Linked DNA regions of Homo sapiens: region 1 is linked to region 2. The links are contacts of gene promoters, found by promoter capture Hi-C in blood cells and fetal thymus (Javierre and others, 2016). All regions are on one chromosome and are shown on one strand. The core of a region is centred on a gene start or on the middle of the fragment in contact, and the rest is flanking DNA. Distances in the headings are between cores, read along the strand shown. Region 1 overlaps CBFA2T2 (CBFA2/RUNX1 partner transcriptional co-repressor 2). Region 2 holds the start of ACTL10 (actin like 10).

Region 1 (5,868 bases), core at 201-2,700, 170 kb before region 2:
TATGTTTTATAACATACAAAAATAGACATTTTACAGAAGGATAAGGTAAAATAAATGGAAGTAGCAGTTCCAACGTTGTCTTTCTACACCCAGTGGTGAATTTTAACAATACCTCCTGGGGTGGAGATCATTGATCTTGTAGTAGTACCTTCTCAATCCATTAGGTCTATTGCTCTGATGAAATCTAGTTTATTCGGTAGAAGTAAAATGTAATGGCTGGGTATGGTGGCTCGCGCCTGTAATCCCACCATTTGGAAGGTCGAGGTGGGCGGATCATCTGAGGTCAGGAGTTTTGAGACCAGCATGGCCAACATGGTGAAACCCCATCTCTACTAAAAATACAAAAAGAAGCTGGCTGTGGTAGCGGGGGCCTGTAGTACCAGCTGAGGCAGGAGAATTGCTTGAAGCCAGGAGGCAGAGGTGGCCGTGAGCTGAGATCCCACCATTGCACTCCAGCCTGGGCAACAAGAGGGAAACTCTATCTCAAAAAAAAAAAAAAAAAAAGGCCGGGCACGATGGCTCATCCCTGTAATCCCAGCACTTTGGGAGGCTGAGGTGGGCGGATCACGAGGTCAGGAGTTCAAGACCAGCCTGGCCAACATTGTGAAACCCCGTCCCTACCAAAAAACGTACAAAAAAAATCAGCTGGGCGTGGTGGCGGGTTCCTGTAGTCCCAGCTACTTGGGAGGCTGAGGCAGGAGAATTGCTTGAAAGAAACTGCGGAGGTTGCAGTGTGCTGAGATCGTGCCACTGCACTCCAGCCTGGGCAACACAGCAAGACTCTGTCTCAAAAAAAGAAAAAAATGTAATGGTTAAGATTTAAATTCTAAAGTTTTGAAATTTAATTCTGGAGTTGTGCTGAGGTTAAAATCCTGGGAACCAATCCTAACAAGTTTTGAGACTTCAGGCTCATTACTTAACCTTCTTGTGCAGTTCATTTTCCTCATCTGAAAAATGGAGATAAAATTTCTACCCCATTTGCAGGTTTATTATGATGGTTAATATATGTTAATATATGTAAAGTACTTAAAACCGTGCTTGACACATTCTGTTCTGGTGGTTGTTAGTGGCTGAGGGTATACCATCTGACTTAGGGTCTCAGTCTAGGAGGGGCCGTGCACAAGTCAACAGGTAATGATAAAGTGTTTTAAGTGCTTTAAGCGTAAGGCTTTTGGGAAGGCAGGGGAGACATAACTAATTATTCCTTGAGATTCCAGGTAAGGTCCAGCTAAAGGGGTGACATTAAACCAGGCTTTAAAGGAGAAGGGAGGCTTTTCCCAGGAGAAGGAAGGGTGAAGTCTACTGGCTGAAGGTAGTTGAGGGCTTGGTGAGTAGTTTATCAGATCTGGACCTACAGGGAACCTGATTGAAGCTTATATACCTTGTTAATAGTGAATTCTGGCTGGAGTTGTTCCTGGCAGGGGCCAGATGGCAAAGAAGCCTGTTACAGAACTTTTCACACCACCACAGCCCTTTCCTTCTCTCTCTGGCACATACCTCATTCTGCCTTCTTAGTTATCTAAGAATATAAGCTTCTAAATTATAAACTCCTTGAGGGTTTTGACAATGTTTGCATTTTTGTAATTTTATTTTGCCTAGCAAGGTAAGTAGGAAGTTCATTAGTGTCGAGAAAGGTATATAATCATTGGACCTTCAAGGAAGTCTAAACAGTTAAAAGTGGAATGGTAAATGACCATATTTACTAGTGAAAAACTTGGTTACAAATGTTTTGTAGTAGATAGGACCTGTGCATTACTATTTAAAAGGGGTAAGAATGATCATCTTCAGTATCCCTTTCCTTATCTGGCACTTATCCATTGGGATTACAGAAGAGATCGGAAAGTGCATCAGAAAGGCTTGTCTGACGTTGAATAGGTACCTTTTGTTTGCTCTTCTAGGTCTGCTTTCCATCCTTTTTCACCCTATCCTGTGCCCTGGGAAGCTGACTTACCTATATGGACTACATCAATGAGCTTCCTTCCCCTTTGAGGTTATGAAATTTATTTTCCTACTCCCGTCTCATGGGTTGTGCCCTTAGCTGACTCTGTCCCTTGACTGAAGGTCACTGCTTCTCTAAATGTGGTCCTCTCGGCCGGGTGCGGTGGCTCATGCCTGTAATCCCAGTACTTTGGGAGGCTGAGGCCGGCAGATCACCTGAGGTCGGGAGTTTGAGACCAGCCTGACCAAAATGGAGAAACCATGTCTCTACTAAAAATACAAAATTAGCTGGGCATGGTGGTGCATGCCTGTAGTTCCAGCTACTCAGGAGGCTGAGGCAGGAGAATTGCTTGAACCCGGGAGGCGGAGGTTATGGTGAGCAGAGATCACGCCATTGCACTCCAGCCTGGGTGACAAGAGCGAAACCCTGTCTCCAAAAAAAAAAAAAAAAAAAAAAAAGAATGTGGTCCTTTCTGTGTGACATCCTCCATGTAGGTTTGGAAAGTTTTTGTTCCCTTTGGTTGTTGGGCCTAGAGATCTAGAGATGCTCTCATTAGTCCCAGGGTATTACAGCTATCCCTTGTGCCTATCTTGTACCCTGCTCACATATTTCTTTCTAGTTCCATTATTAAACCCTCCTTGAATTAACCTTACTGGAGTATGCCATGTTTCCTGCTGGGACCATGACTGTGTTTGAAGCTTGTATACTTTTTTTTTTTTTTTTTTTTTGAGAAGGGGTCTCACTCTGTCGCTAGGCTACAGTGCGGTAGTGTGATCTGGGCTCACTACAATCTCTGCCTCCCGGGTTCCAGCGATTCTCCTGCCTCCGCCTCCCGAGTAGCAGGGACTACAGGCACACGCCACCACGCCCAGCTAATTTTTGTATTTTTAGTAGAGATGGGGTTTCACCATGTTGGCCAGGCTAGTCTCGATCACTTGACCTCGTGATCTGCCCGCCTTGGCCTCCCAAAGTGCTGGGATTACAGGCGTGAGCCACCACACCCAGCTTATTTTTATTTTTTTTATAGAGACAGGATGTTTCTATGTTTCCCATGCTGGTCTCTAATTACTGGGTTCCAATGATTCTCCTGCCTTGGACTCCCAAAATGCTAGGATTGCAGATGTGAGCCATTGAGTCCAGCCCTTCTTTGACTTTTGAGTAAGTTTATCCTAGTTTGGAACCAGTTAGTTTTCTTTTTATCTTACTGTATTTTTAAAATTTTTGTTTGTTAATTTTGAAACCAGGTTATGAGACCAACTTTTGTATTTTTGGTAGAGACAGGGTTTCTTCATGTTGCCCAGGCTGGTCTAGAACTCCTAGGCTCAAGTGATCCACCTGCCTTGGCCTCCCAACGTGCTGGCATTAACAGGCATGAACCACTGTGCCTGGCCCAGTTAATTTTCTTTCTTTTTTTTTTTTTTTTGAGATGGAGTTTCCCTTTTGTTGCCCAGGCTGGAGTGCAGTGGCACTGGAGTGCAGTTGCTCACTGCAACCTCCGCCTCCCAGGGTCAAGCCATTGTCCTGCCTCAGCTTCCCAAGTCGCTGGGTTTACAGGCATGCGCCACCACACCTGGCTAATTTTTGTATTTTTAGTGGAGATGGGGGTTTCATCATGTTGGCCAGGCTGGTCTCGAACTCCTGACCTCAGGTCATCTGCCCACCTCGGCCTCCCAAAGTGCTGGGATTATAGGCGTGAGCTACCGCGCCCAACCTGACCTAGTTTTCTTATATACAGAATCAAAAAATCAGCAGAGAGGTTGGGCGTGATGGTGGTGCCACTCAGCTGTAGTCCCAGTTACTCGGAAGGCTGAGGTAGGAGGATCGCTTGAGCCCAGGTGTTGGAAGCTGCAGTGATAGTGCCACTGCACTCCAGCCTGGGTGACAGAGAGACCCTGTCTCAAAATAATAAAAAATAATAATGGCCAGGCACAGTGGCTCATACCTGTAACCCCAGCACTTTGGGAGGCCGAGGCGGGCGGATCACCTGAGGTCAGGAGTTCGAGACCAGCCTGGCCAACATGGCAAAACCCCGTCTCTTCTAAAAATACAAAAATTAGCCAGGTATGGTGGTGGGTGCCTATCATCTCAGCTACTCAGGAGGCTGAGGCAGGAGAATTGCTTGAACCCAGGGGGCGGAAGGTTGCAGTGAGCTGAGATCACGCTGCTTCATTCCAGCCTGGGCGAAAGAGTGAAACTCCGTCTAAAAAGAAAAAAAAAAAAAATAAGCAGAGAGATTGAGTTTAAGCTTGTTCTCAAGTGTTAAATGTTGTATAGGTTATGTGAATCCAGAGTTTTAGGCAGGAAGAATGGTTTAAATGATAGTGCTTAATGAATGATTGCAGCCCTGGGATCAAAATGAGTTAATTCACTAAGTTCAGGGTAATGAAAATAGGAGGAAGAGGTGGGGAAGTAAGATTTCTCACCTGCCAATTTTGTTCTCATTCCTTAGAGTATTGTTTTGAATCTCATAGAAAGTGACCATTCTTTTGTAAAGATTTACTTCAAATCCCTGAAAGCTTGGAGGCTAATGAAGAAGAATCACTCTGGTTATTGTTTAGGCTTTAGTAAGATTACCAAGGAAGGGATCTCATAATGCTGTAGTAATAGTTTACATGTGCGACATGAGCTAGTGTTTGTACATGTGACAGACCTTGTTTCTGGATTTTATTAAGGCTGGTTAAGTAGCTTTTTGCCTCTGTCTCTGGTTTCTGTCTCTGGCCCCTTGAGGCTATCTGAAATTTTAGGAGTTGGGGTACCATAACTTGAACTTTTGAAATGAGTCAATAAGCAGATACGTCAGCCGAGTATGACTTTAAGTCTAGTTGAATTCTTTTAAGAAAAAGTCTTGGCTAGATTTTCTGCTGGGCATTTTTTATGTACATCAATCATCTCATTTAATTATAGATCAAACTTGGGAGAGAGTATCTCTGTTTTACTGATAAGGAAATCCTGGGCGACAGAGTGAGACTCCATCTCAGAAAAAAGAAAAAAAGAAATGAGTTAGAGAATTTAATTGTCCAAGGTCACACAGTTAATAAGTAGTAGATTCACTCTTCCTAACTAGTTTAATCTTGGTGTCAAGTTCATTCATTATGCATTGAGTGTCCAAACACCCATTTATTTTTTATTTTTTATTTTTTTTAAAGACAGTCTCTGTCGCTCAGGCTGAGTGCAGTGGTGTGATCTTGGCTCACTGCAACCTCCACCACCGAGGTTCAAGCAGTTCTGTGCCTCAGCCTCCTGAGCAACTGGGACTACAGGCGCCCGTCACCACACCCGGCTAATTTTTGTATTTTTAGTAAAGACGGGGTTTCACCATCTTGGCCAGGCTGGTCTTGAACTCCTGACTTGTGATCTGCCCGCCTCTGCCTCCCAAAGTGGTGGGATTATAGACGTGAGCCACTGCGCCCAGCCAAAAACCCACTTTTTTTTAACCCTCTATCGCATGGCTTCTTTTTGCTAGACTAGGGGTTTTTAGACATGTGTTCTACAGGAGCCCAGAGCTTCCTGAAGATAATTGATTTCCCATAATCTTTCTTCAACTTTCTTTCCCTAACAACTCTTCTTATTTAAAAAAAAAAGTCCAGGCCAGGCGCGGTGGCTCACGTCTGTAATTCAAGCACTTTGGGGAGGCTGAGGCTGATGGATCAGCTGAGGTTGGGAGCTCAAGACCAGCCTGACCAACATGGAGAAACCCCGTCTCTAATAAAAATACAAAATTATTCAGCCATGGTGGCGCATGCCTGTAATCACAGCTACTTGGGAGGCTGAGGTGGGAGAATCACTTGAACCTGGGAGGCAGAGGTTGTAGTGAGCCAAGATCCTGCCACTACACTCCAGCCTGGGCGACAGAGCAAGACTCTGTCTCAAAAAAATAAATAAAAATTTAAAAATTTAAAAAAGTCCAAATAATTGGGGTATGATTTAAA
Region 2 (5,656 bases), core at 1,152-3,651:
AAACCACTTACCTGTCTAGGGCAGCTCACTCCCCTGCTCATAAGCTTTCAACAGGTCTCCATTACCAACAGGGAAAAAGCCCACAGCTTCAGTCTCACTCCCCAAATCACTTAGAAGAAGCCCTGCCACACTTTCTGTGGGCGGGATCCTGCTGCTGCTTCTCCTCACTCTCCCGGGTCCCAAATCCAGCTCCACACCCAATGCCACCCCTGGCCTGCCAAACCTGCAGCCCGCCTTCCTGCCACACTCTGGTGACCAACCTCAGGATGCCCTCTTTTGGGGGCAGATGCAGCAGGACTGAAGTCCCAGCTCACTACAGCCATCAGCCCAGCTTCTGCTGAAGATGCACTTTTGTCACCGCCACCAGGATGAACATCTCCTCCACCTTGCCTGCACCAGGCTGGAGGCTGCAAGAGCTATAACATCACTCCTGCTAATTGTGAGAACTGACTCTTCCCTACCATCCACATGGTTACAATCAGGGTAACCATGTTCTTCCATGGGGCTGCACCTCCTGCCCATACAGTGATTGGCCCAAGCTGGTCCTGTCAGCCCCTCCCCCTAGGACTGTGATTCAGGAGCTGTAAGAGACCATGTTCTCTACTTGAACATGCACAGGCTAAGCCAGCCTTCAGAATAAAAACACAATGCAGGCCAAGCGCAGTGGATCACGCCTGTAAACCCAGCACTTTGGGAGGCTGAGGCAGGCAGATCACGAGGTCAGGAGATCGAGACCATCCTGGCTAACACGGTGAAACCCCGTCTCTACTAAAAATACAAAAAACTAGCCAGGCATCATGGCGGGCGCCTGTAGTCCCAGCTACTCGGGAGACTAAGGCAGGGGAATTGAACCCAGGAGGCAGAGGTTGCAGTGAGCTGAGATCACACCACTGCACTCCAGCCTGGGCAAGAGAGCGAGACTCCATCTCAAAAAACAAACAACACAATGCAGTGCACATCCTGGGTTCCCCACAGCCCCGCAGTCAGATTCTGTTCCTGAAACCTGATTTCACCCTTGCTCTTGATATCCATAACATGTAAGATCCTTTCAATAAAGTCCTTATTTTGGGTTACATTCACCTGAGTCTTCTACCTGCAACCAAACTGGTCCTCAGGAGGATGAGGCTTTGCAGAGACAAGAAGTGACCTCTTTCCTGTGTGGGGGGATTATTACTACCTTTTGGAGGAGAAAACCGAACCCAGAGAAAGATCAAGACTTGCTTAGGACTGCACAGTGAGTCAGCTTCAGAACTGAGTCTTGCTGGGTGCGGTGGCTCACACCTGTAATCCTAGCACTTTGGGAGTCCAAGGCAGGTGGATCACCTGAGGTCAGGAGTTCGAGACCAGCCTGGCCAACGTGGCGAAACCCTGTCTCCACTAAAAATACAAAAATTAGCCGCGTATGGTGGTGCATGCCTGTAGTCCCAGCTACTCAGGAGGCTGAGGCAGGAGAATCACTTGAACTCGGAAGGCAGAGGTTGCACTGAGCTGAGATTGCAACGCTGCACGCCCAGCCTGGGTGACCGAGACTCCGTCTCAAAAATAATAATAATAAAAAAAAGAACTGAGTCTCAAACTGAGGCCCACGTGAATCCATCCGTGGAAGCCCATAAAGGTAGGGCCAGAGCCTCTCGGGGGCTCTTCAGGGAAGCTGCAGATCTGTGATGAAAAAGCTTTTTCTTCAGCACTGGGAGGGGTAGGGGGCCACACATCTGGACAGAGTACATCAGATAATTCTAAGTGGTTTGGGAAAGGAATCAGACTGTGCTGGGCTGCTGAAGCCAGACCCCTGGATGCCAAAATCACTGCCCTTGGCTCTGTCCAGAAGAGAGGATGGGTCCAGGGAGTTGTCATAAGGTAGGGAGCTGCGAAGTGCAGCTGCTGGGGAGTGAGGTCACAATGAGCCCAATCCAAGTTCTTTTCTGCCTTCTGACCAGCCCCTCCCCTCTCCACAACCAGGAACTTCCGTCAAGCCCAGGTGAGAGGTGCCAGGAGGCTGCCTGGGTCCTCAAGGGGGATATATGTCCAAATGGCCTTACCACAAGGCCCCTTCGCCCTCAAAGTTCTGCTCCTCCCGGGGGCTTCTTAGGATCTAAAAGGATCAGTCCTAGCCATCTCGTCAGCCATCTCAGCAAGGGCTGACGGGGCGGAACAGCAAAGCAGAGGCGGGTCCTGAGAGCGTGGAGCCTGAAGCCCGGCGCCAGAGGGAGACCAAGAGGGTGAGATGCGGCTGGAACCCAGCCAGAGCGGAGACTGAAGCCTGAACTAGGGGCCGGGCCTCAGGCCTAGGAACTAGCCACGAGCTGAAAAGGAGGCGGATGGCCCGGACAGAAGAGGCGGGGCTTTCAGACCAGAGGGCGGAGCCAAGAGCTGAAAAGGGTGGTGATTTGGTCCAGAAGAGGAAGAACTTAGGCTCCGGAGGCAGAGCCAAAGGCTGAAGGGGACTACTCCCTAGGACAGAGGCCGGGAGGTATCGGGCCGACGAAGCCGAGTGGCGCGGAGGAGCGGAGCCTTCAGCCCCGCGGCTGGGCCGAGCCCGAAGGTGGCGTCGGTGTCGGGGAGCCGCCGCGTGCACCGGCCGTCCTCCCTGGGCCGCATCGCGGTGGTGGTGGACCAGGGCTCGGGCTTCACCAAGGCGGGCTTCGCGGGCGAGAACCAGCCGCGCATAGTGCTGAAGAGCTCTAGCTTGGTGCCCAGCTGGGACCGGCCGGTGCTGCCCGGAGCGCCGGGCTGCGAGCTGGCGGGCGGCGTGGCGCGGGCGCACCCCATCAAGCACGGCGTGGTGGCGGACTGGGAGGCGCTGGAAGGGCTGTGGGAGCGCCTGCTGGTGGGCGGCCTGCGGGTGTGCCCAGAGCAGTGGCCCGTGCTGGTGAGCGACTCGCCGTTGGCGCCGCCCGCGGGCCGCGAAAGGGTGGCGGAGCTGCTGTTCGAGACCCTGGCAGTGCCCGCGTGCCACATGGCTAGCACCGCGTTGCTGGCGCTCTGCTCCACCGGCGCGTTCAGCGGGCTGGCCGTGGAGGCGGGCGCGGGCGTGTGCCACGCCACGCCCATCTACGCGGGTCACTCGTGGCACCAGGCCACCTTCCGACTGAACGTGGCAGGCAGCACCCTGTCGCGCTACCTGCGGGATCTGCTGGTGGCGGCGAACCCTGACCTCTTGCAGCAGGCCCTGCCCCGCAAGGCCATCACACATCTCAAGAAGCGCAGCTGCTACGTGTCCCTGGACTTCGAGGGCGACCTCCGCGACCCCGCCCGCCACCATCCGGCCAGTTTCAGCGTGGGTAACGGGTGCTGCGTCTGCCTCAGCAGTGAGCGCTTCCGCTGCCCCGAACCCATCTTCCAGCCGGGCCTGCTGGGCCAGGCTGAGCAGGGGCTGCCCGCGCTGGCCTTCCGGGCGCTGCAGAAGATGCCCAAAACGCTGCGGACACGCCTGGCAGACACCGTGGTGCTAGCCGGCGGCTCCACACTGTTTCCTGGCTTCGCCGAGCGCCTGGACAAGGAGCTGGAGGCGCAGTGCCGGCGGCACGGCTACGCGGCCCTGCGGCCCCACCTGGTGGCCAAGCATGGGCGTGGCATGGCTGTGTGGACCGGCGGCTCCATGGTGGCCTCCCTGCACTCCTTCCAGCGCCGCTGGATAACTCGGGCCATGTACCAGGAGTGTGGCTCCAGGCTGCTGTACGATGTGTTCAACTGAGTCAGGCTGGACTGGGGGGGGTGGCACTGCGTTGGGGGACAGCTCTCTATCTAAAGAGTCAAGTGTTTGGAGCTGGCAGGGTCCTCCTGGAGGTTGGAGCTGACTGGATGGGTCACCCCCATACCCTTTCTGGGCCAGGAGAAGGTATTTGGGACCCATGGGACCCTCATTTTGAACTGCAGTTTGAATCTCCCCAACCACTGCCAGTTCAGAGAATGCCAGTCCAGCTGCCTACCCACAGGGCCCTACTTTATGGCAATAAAGGTGATGCCCCACTTGTGTCCATGCCACAGATATGGGAGTTCCTCCAAACCCTCGTCATGTACCATTTGGACATACATCCGATGCCAGGCCCCAAGGGGCGATCCCTTGAAAAGCTACTAAATCTCATGTGAAAGTCACCAGGAGGAGGAGCCCTGTGCCTAGCCATGTGCTCAGGTCATTGTTGACTATGAGTGCCTCAGTTTCCCCTTCTGTAAAAAGTGGGGTCAGGCACAATCCCGGGCCTGCTCACTGCTCCCTCCCCCTTACAAGAGCTATGGAGCAAAGGGAGGTGGAGATATTTCTTGAACACACAAAGGGAAGGGCAGCTTATTTTTTGGAAGTCACCACTCAAGGGCCTCAAGCCCTGGCTATCAGCACTGTTCGAGCTTGTGTATACACGTGTCCACACAAACGCGTGGGTGTTCACGTACCTGCCTACTCACGTATGTCCTCGGGCCAGGCCCTGCCCTGTGAACCTGTGAGCACAGCCTTCCACGCCTAGCCCAGCCCTGAATGATATCCCACCACAGTTGTGATGGGCCAGCAACTAAAGCAACAGCAGCCCCTAGTATGAAGCACCCAGTGTATGCCAGACATTATTCTGGGTGCTGGAAACAGAATAAAACAGACAAAAATCCCTGCCTTCGTTCTCACTGGTCACAGTGATGTATGAAGGGCAGCTCTATTGTTATGATGGTTTACAGATGAGGAAACAGGCCCAGAGAGGTCAAGGGGCACAGCTACAAAGTGGGAGCCAGGATTTGAACCCAAGCCCCTAGCTCTATAACCCTGAGTCAAGACTGTGGAGGATCCCACAGCACAGCAGATGCCCACTGCCTCACAGTGGATCCCCCACCATCAGCCACTCCACTCACCAGCTTGGTGGCATCCATGGCAGCGAGCACTGCACGGTTCAGCGATTCCAATGCAGCCAGCACCGGCCGGTAGACACCCAGGTGCTCTGAGAAGTAGTCTGCAGGCAGAAGAGGTGCTCAAGGGTTCCTGGACCCCCACCCATCTACCCACCCTGGGATTCTGGCCCCCTGGAATTCCTCAGCAGCCAAGCAGGCCTTATATCCTGAGCCCAGCCCAACCTGTCCCATCAGGAGACCAGCAACAGTCCCTTGCCACACGTACCCTGGGGCCCAGGGGCCACAGGAGAAAAGAGCTCCCATGGGCCTACTCACCACACAGTTTTTCTGTTTCTAAATTGCTGCAGGGAAAAGAGAAGGCGCCCTTCAGACCTGGGCCTGGTAAACTGGGACTAATGGGGCCAATGCCCCACATCCCACCCCACCAACTCCCAGCTTAGCCTAACAAGGCCACTTCTGCTCCACCCCAGATTAAGTTGCTCCTGTGGACAGAGTCCTTGCAGGGTTGGAGAATGGGTTCTACTGCCCCCACCAATCACTCTAAGGGCAAAGATTCAGACCCATTCTTGGCTACCAAGAGGATCTCAGGCCAGGGGAAGATGGATGTGGACACAGGCCAGTGAGAAGTGGTCAGAGCTGCGAAGGGGAAGCCAGGTGCAAGGCAATGAAGTCCAGGGACGGCATGGGGTATTTAGTTGTAGGTTAGGGAGGGTTTCCTAGAGGAAGAGCTGCCTAAGTGAGGCCCTGAAGGACAAGGAACTGGGTGGGGAGTCTGGCCAGGAGGGGAGGGGAAGCACTGCAGATGAAGGTTCCAGCCCAAGTCTCA

The links. The method cuts DNA at HindIII sites, captures the fragments that hold promoters and counts their contacts. A CHiCAGO score of 5 or more calls a contact.
Region 1: a contact is called between a fragment that was not itself captured here and the fragment with the promoter of ACTL10 in region 2, in 5 of 17 cell types (neutrophils, naive B cells, total B cells and 2 more). The highest score is 6.4, in neutrophils.

The regions. Positions count from the first base shown.
Region 1 is chr20:33,494,902-33,500,769 of GRCh38, forward strand. All of the region lies in intron 1 of CBFA2T2 (CBFA2/RUNX1 partner transcriptional co-repressor 2), which reads left to right. Among named protein-coding and RNA genes, the nearest start is that of CBFA2T2, 7.7 kb to the left of the region's middle. The HindIII fragment of the contact is 160 bases long and covers 1,371-1,530 here.
Region 2 is chr20:33,664,542-33,670,197 of GRCh38, forward strand. It overlaps ACTL10 (actin like 10), which reads left to right and starts at 2,402. Exons shown (of 1, transcript NM_001024675.2): 1 at 2,402-3,984. The coding sequence starts at 2,957. The coding sequence ends at 3,694. It overlaps NECAB3 (N-terminal EF-hand calcium binding protein 3), which reads right to left. Exons shown (of 12, transcript NM_031232.4): 4 at 5,146-5,171; 5 at 4,834-4,931. RefSeq lists enhancers at 1-244, 2,095-2,314, 3,125-3,204 and a silencer at 2,445-2,774. The HindIII fragment of the contact is 8,805 bases long and covers 1,672-5,656 here.